Regions from separate parts of the Homo sapiens genome. Here region 1 is linked to region 2. Evidence: promoter capture Hi-C in human tissues and cell types (Jung and others, 2019). All regions are on one chromosome and are shown on one strand. The core of a region is centred on a gene start or on the middle of the fragment in contact, and the rest is flanking DNA. Distances in the headings are between cores, read along the strand shown. Region 1 overlaps CAMKV (CaM kinase like vesicle associated). Region 2 holds the start of UBA7 (ubiquitin like modifier activating enzyme 7).

What was found. The method cuts DNA at HindIII sites, captures the fragments that hold promoters and counts their contacts. A contact is called where the count stands out against the background at its distance.
Region 1: a fragment that was not itself captured here is called in contact with the fragment with the promoter of UBA7 in region 2 in 1 of the 25 tissues and cell types used here (pancreas).

The regions. Positions count from the first base shown.
Region 1 is chr3:49,862,498-49,866,051 of GRCh38, forward strand. All of the region lies in intron 1 of CAMKV (CaM kinase like vesicle associated), which reads right to left. It also overlaps the pseudogene RN7SL217P. Among named protein-coding and RNA genes, the nearest start is that of CAMKV, 5.6 kb to the right of the region's middle. The HindIII fragment of the contact is 9,007 bases long and covers 1-3,554 here.
Region 2 is chr3:49,812,689-49,815,886 of GRCh38, forward strand. It overlaps UBA7 (ubiquitin like modifier activating enzyme 7), which reads right to left and starts at 1,265. Exons shown (of 24, transcript NM_003335.3): 1 at 1,044-1,265; 2 at 791-959; 3 at 561-695; 4 at 374-480; 5 at 1-50. The coding sequence starts at 1,099. RefSeq lists an enhancer at 999-1,388. The HindIII fragment of the contact is 21,739 bases long and covers 1-3,198 here.

The DNA.
Region 1 (3,554 bases), core at 134-2,633, 50 kb after region 2:
AGCTAGGGGCAGAGACCATACCAGGAGGGGCTAGAGGATAGGCAGGCTTAGATCCTACCCCTGCTTTTCTGGCTAGACATCCAGCTACTCAGCTTGGCTGCCTGAAGTGCAACAGCCTACATATGAAAAAATGTATTAAGCTGATATATAAGGGAATAGTTTTGTATTCTATACATTCAAAAAAAAGGCTTATCAAACAGTTTATTTAAATTTCAGCTATTTTACAGATGAAGGGGGCTATAACCACCCACCCACCTGCTAGTCATCTCTGAAGGTCTAGAGCTAACAAGTGTTAGTGGATATATGAAGAACGTGAGCACTGCTAGGAGAGGGCAAACTCCCCTTTGTAAAGCAGTTTGGTAAAACCACTAAAGTCAAACAAACATACCCTATGAACCAGCAATTGCACTCCTAAATACGTGCCTACAGAAGTGCACATATTCGTGCATCAGGACAGTCATACAATGCTCATAGTAGCCATATACATAATCGCCAAAAATTGAAAACAGACCAAATACCACCACCAACAGGATGTATTGTGGTAGAGTCACACAATGGAATATTATATAGCAATGGAAACAAAGGAGCTACAGCTATACCCAACCACCTGGTGACTCTTACACAGTGTTAAGTGCAAAAAGACACAAAAGAATACATATAGTATGAGTCTATTGATAGAGTTCAAACAGGCAGAACAAACCCGTAAGGGGGATACAAACACAGCAGTAGAGCTATAAAGAAAAGCTAGGAAATAAGCAGAGTCAGATAATGGTCCCTTCTAAGAGAAAAGGAGGGGTTATGATTGATTCAGGACACATGGGGGGATTCTGGAAGACCTATTTCTTTTCTTTTCTTTTCTTTCTTTCTTTCTTTTTTTAGAGACAAGTCTCACTATGTTGCCCAGGCTGGAGTGCAGTGGCTATTCATGGGCACAAGCCCACTACTGATCAGCACAGGAGTTTTGACCTGCTTCGTCTCTGACCTTGGTTGCTTCACCCCTCCTTTAGGCAACCTGATGAGCTCTAGCTCCCAGGAAGTCACCATACTAATGCCAAACTTAGTGTAGACACCCAACTGGCATAGCGCACTGCAGCCCAGAGCTCCTGAACTCAAACGATCCTCCCACCGCAGCTGGGATTACAGGCACCCGCACCATGCCCAGCTGTTCTGTCACCCAGGCTGGAATGCAGTGGCACCCAGGCTGGAATGCAGTGGAATGATCACAGCTCATTCCAGCCTCAACCTCCTGGGCTCAAGCGATCCTCCCACCTCAGCCTCCTGAGTAGCTAGGACTGGACCATAGGTGCACACCACCACAACTGGCTAATTTTTAAAAATTTTTTTGTAGATACAGGATTTCATTACGTTGCCCAGGCTGTTCTTGAACTCCTGGGCTCAAGTGATCCTCCCACCTCAGCTTCCCAAAGTGCTGGGATTACAGGCATGAGCCACCATACCTGGCTTGGGTAAATTTTTTAAAGTTTACATACTGATGTACCCTCACAAACTCTTTTCTGGAAGAATACTGAAGGAAATAAGAGTTCTCTCCTGGGCAAAGAATTGGATGTCAAAAAGGCAGACATATCTTTTGTTTACTAATTTTCTGTGCGAATTTTTACTATTTTACTATAATGACTTCGATGAATTTAGTAAATACTGCACTCAGGCACAGTGCTTGGGGGATTCCTCAGAGGGATAATCTGGGTGGAGAGGCAAGGTAAAGCTTTGGAGGCAGCATTAGGACTCAGTAGGAAAAGATTTGCCAGGAGGTATGCAGGTGTACTGGTCAGGAAGAGCAAAACAAGCCTGATCCTGGTCCCAGCTTTCGGCTCTGCATATGCATTCATGCCCACTGGGGCCCACAGGGGACCTGGGCTGTCAGGTCCAGGTGCAAGGCCCCCAAACAGAACAGATATAGCTGGCTCAGTGAGCGCTAGGCACTCTTTCCACCTGGGGCACGGTGTCCCACAGGTCTGCAATCCTGCCAATTACAGCCCAATCCTCATCTGTAGTGCTAGGGGGGCTGACTCCAGTGTCCAAAGGAAAAGGCACTCATAGCCCATGCTCAAAGCTGGGGGTGGGGGGTTACTGACTAGACCTTCACAGATCTGACGCCAGGGTGTGCCTCCATAATACCCGGTCAGTGTGACACTGGGGCTACAGCAAGCTCTGCACTGAGGCTGCGCTGAAATTGCTCTGCCTCTGCTGACTGTGCATGTTTTCCCTCCATGCCAATTAGCACTTGCTGTGTGCAGGGCCTGAGCTAGGGCCTGGGGGTACCTAGATGCTCCCCGACCTGAAGGCACTCACAGCCTCAAGGTAGTGGAGAAGGGAGGAGGCAAAGGAGGCAGCTTGGCAAGATGAACTCTGCCAGCCAAAGTCAAAGACCAGGACCCAAACGAGCCCCATAGCCAACCCTGGCTGCTACTTGCTTCCTCCCAGGCAGAAGCCAGCCACCAGGCTGTGATTCCCAGGAGTCACAGCCCTGGAAATTCTCCCTCAGATTTGCCTTCAGCATTAGGGAACAAACTCTATCATTCCTTCATCTGGGTTGCTTGGGCTCAGGGAATACAAATGCATTTCATCAGCATTATTCCAGACAGGGTTTAAGCCATCTTGCGAGGCACAGCAGAGACAAAGGAGAGGCTTTGAAGATCGTCACTGACTGCATGTCTGCCACCATGGGCACAACCCTGCACTCCTCCACTGGGGAGAAGCATGTGGCCAGAATCCCATCCTCACAGCTGAGAGCAGAGGCATAGCCAGTTACCATTGCCGGCTACACATTTTCACACCATAACAGCTGCAGGAGGGGGCCTGCAACAGTCATCTCAGTCTGAGGGCCGTGTACTGGGCAGGAGGATGGTACCTTAGCCTGCAGTCTCCCAAGAAGGCTGGGAGGGACCTGTGCCCTGGCTCTGTTGCTTTGCTTACACCATTCCCTCTGGCAAGAGTGCCCTTCCCCCAAAAGCCTCCCGTCAGATTCCTATTTGTCACGGCAGAGTTATTTATAACATTAAAAAAAATTCAGCAACTACCTAAATGTCCAACAACAGGTGACTCGCCAGCTCAACTGTGTCCACTCAATGGTAGGAAGTGTGGGCACTGGCAAGAGCTCTGCCCACCTTGGCTTTCCTGTGGAGCAGCTGCCACATGAGCGAGGTGCTGAGAGCAGAACTGAATCTCTTCTTTCATTGTGATTTCTGACATTATAAGGTGGTTTGTGCAACACATTGTCCAAAACAATCCTGATGCTCGAAGGCCAGACTCAAAATGGCCCTTTTCTGAGATACCTTCCACAACCTCCATGCCCCACCCCCCACCCCACTCCAACAGCTCCCAGCTTTGCCAGTGTGGCGTGGGTGGGAGGTTTTGTGCATGCCTGTCCTTGATCCTGGCCCCAGCTTTCGGCTCTGCATATGCATTCGTGCCCACTGAGGTCCAGGGCTGGTCATGGGGGTCTGTCCCATGAAAGGCACAGAAAACTGGGCCTCCACCCCGTAATGTCAGCCTGGAGCCATGTCCTGAAGCCTCAAGGCTGAGATGGGAACAGA
Region 2 (3,198 bases), core at 15-2,514:
CTGTGGGGTCCTGCACAGTGAAGTCCTCACCAAAGTCACAGAACAACTGCCTGAGATGGGGTGGTAGGGGTCACTGAGGTGGCTTACAGATTGTACTTAAGGATAGGGGATACTAGGGCAGGGCCAGAGGGCCAGAATTGGGAAAGGAATGCAAGGAGAGGCTTGGGAACTAGAATTTGAGAGGGTTACTGGAGCAGGTCTGGAGGCTAGGTTGGAGGAACCAGAGGGCAGGACTGGGGACCAGAATCAGAAAGGCATGCTGGGATAGACCTGAGGCTGGTTGGAGGGGCACTGGAGCAAGCCTGGAGCTGAGGACAGCATGAGGCCAGTTGCTGGCTGTAATATGGTAGGCTGGGCAGGCAGTCTTACTCACCCCACGAGGCCCCGGGTGTCAGCCGCCAGAAAGCAAACTCCATGCTTATGACACAAGGTGCCCACCTTCAGCTGCTCCTCCAGCTTTGCAGCAGTCAGCACCACCACCTGGGTGGACACAGTGATCAGCAGGGCCAAAACCATTGCCCAGCCCTTCCTGCTCTTGAGGGCTGCAGGCCTGAGCTGACCTGGAAGTCCAACAGCAGGTCCTCAGTGATGTCACCCGTGTGCACGACGACCTGGACAGCTCTGTTGAGCTGAGCCAAGAGCTCTTGAGAGGCCTCGGCTCTGCTCCTTTCCAAGTCCTGCTCTGAGAGGAGAAACTAGGGAGAGAGCCAGTGCAGCCTGAGCAAAGACACTCCTCTTGGGCCGTGCCCCCACCTTGGTCTGGCAGCCCATAGCCCCCCAGGACACTTACCTGGGCAGCCAGGTCGGACCAGCAGGTGGGGTGGGGATCATGCAGAGTGAGGCTGCCCACACCCATCAGAACCAAGTTCTTGGCCACCTCGGCCCCCAGGCCCTGCAGGCCTGACACCAGGACCCTGGCTCCCTGAATCCTCTGCATGGCAGGTGAGCCCAGCACATACCTGTGGATGGGAAGCAGAAGGCAAGCAGTTGTAGATCAAGGTCTGAAGACCATCCCACTCTCCACCCCCCACCTCGGGCCTCACAGCTGTCTTGAATACAGCTCCTCATCCAGTAGCTTCGAAGCGTCCAGGGCATCCATCCTCAAACCTGGGGCTGAACAGTAGGCTGCAGCGCTCAGAGATAGGGTCTTTGTGTAGGTGGCGGTGACAGTAGGGGCCAGTGCCCTGCTGTAGCCAGTGCAAACAGGAACCAAGGCCAAGCGAATAAGGGACGCTGCTGGTCACAGCTCTCTTCCTGGAGAAAAGAAAAGTGAAAGTTAAACTATGCTCTGAGCTGGCTCCTGATCCTGCCTCCAGACGCCAGCCCCAGACAGGCCATTCAGGGTCTAAAACCTGGGATGAGTTCCAGGACTCTCAAGAGGTGATCAGTCTCTGAGTGTCAGACCTGAGGGTGGGAGGCATGGGGCAGCCACATTCACACATGTTCTTATTTTCCTTTTAGACTTTTATTTTGAAATAATTATAGACTCATAAGAAGTTGCAAAAAAAATAGTGCAGAGAGGTCCTGTGTCTCCTTTTGCCTTCTTAGGAACCTGGGGCCAGTTCTCTGGGAGATGGACCACTGTTTGTCACGAAACTACGTAATAGCCAAACCAAGTGCTGTCTTAAGTTCTTTTTTGTTGTTGTTGTTAATTTAGGTGAAATTCATGTAACATAAAGTTAACAATTTTAAAGTGTACAATTCAGTGGCATTTAGTGCATCCACAGTGTTGTTCAACCATCACGTCTATCTAGTTCCAAAATATTTCATCACCCACAACGAACATACCAAACACATTCAATAATTACCATACATGTGGCCGGGCATGGTGGCTCACACCTGTAATCCTAGCACTTTGGGAGGCCAAGGCGGGTGGACCACCTGAGGTCTGGAGTTCAAGACCAGCCTGACCAACATGGTGAAACCCCATCTCTACTAAAAGTACAAAAATTAGCCAGGCATGGTGGTGCATGCCTACATGTAATCCCAGCTACTCGGGAGGCTGAGGCAGAAGAATTGCTTGAATTCGGGAGATGGAGGTTGCAGTGAGCTGAGATCGAGCCACTGCGCTCCAGCCTGGGCAACAGAGTGAGACTCAGTCTCAAAAAAAAAAAAAAAAAAAAAAAGAATTGCAAAATGTGACCTCTTATGTCTATTTCCTTTCACTTAGAATGTTTTCAATGTTCATAGAGTTTATAGCCTGTATCAATATTTCATTCCTTTTAATGGCTGAATAATAGTCCATTATATGTATATACCACAATTCGTTTATCCATTCATCTGTTGATGGACATCTGGGTTATTTCTAACTTTTGGATTTGTGAATAGTGCTGCTATGTCCTTTTTTTTTTTTTTTTCTTTTTGAGACAGTCTCACTCGGTTGCCCAGGCTGGACTGCAGTGGCACAATCACAGCTCACTGCAGCCTCGATCTCCTGGGGTCAAGTGATCCGGCTGCCTCAACCTCCCAAGTAGCTGGGACTAGAGGTGTGCACCACCATACCCTGTTAAAGTGGTTTTTGTTTGTTTGTTTGTTTTTGAGACAGGGTCTCACTCTGGTTGCCTAGGCTGGAGTGCAGTGGTGTGATCATGGCTCACTGCAGCCTCAGTGTCTTGGGCTCAAGCAATCCTCCCACCACAGCCTCCTGAGTAGCTGGGACCACAGGCATGCACCACCACATCTGGCTAATTTTTCTTTTTTTTTTTTTTTTGAGACGGAGGCTTGCTCTGTCACCCAGGCTGGAATGCAATGGCACAATCTTGGTTCACTGCAACCTCCGCCTCCTGGATTCAAATGATTCTTCCGACCCAGCCTCCTGAGTAGCTGGGATTACAGACACTGCCATCATGCCCGGCTAACTTTTGTATTTTTGTAGAGATGGGGTTTCACCATGTTGGCCAGGCTGGTCTTGAACTCCTGACATCAGGTGATCCCCCCGCCTTGGCCTCCCAGAGTGCAATTTTTCTTTTTTTACTTTTAGTAGAGACGGGGTTTTGATATGTTGCCTAGGCTGGTCTCGAATCTCTGGACTCAAGCAATCTGCCCACCTCAGCCTCCCAAAGTGCTGGGACTACAGGCGTGAGCCACCGCACCTGGCTTTGGCTAATTTCCTAATTAATTACTTGCTTTTGTAGAGATTGGGGGTGGGTATTGCTATCTTGCCCAGGCTGGTCTCGAATGCCTGGCCTCAAGTGATCC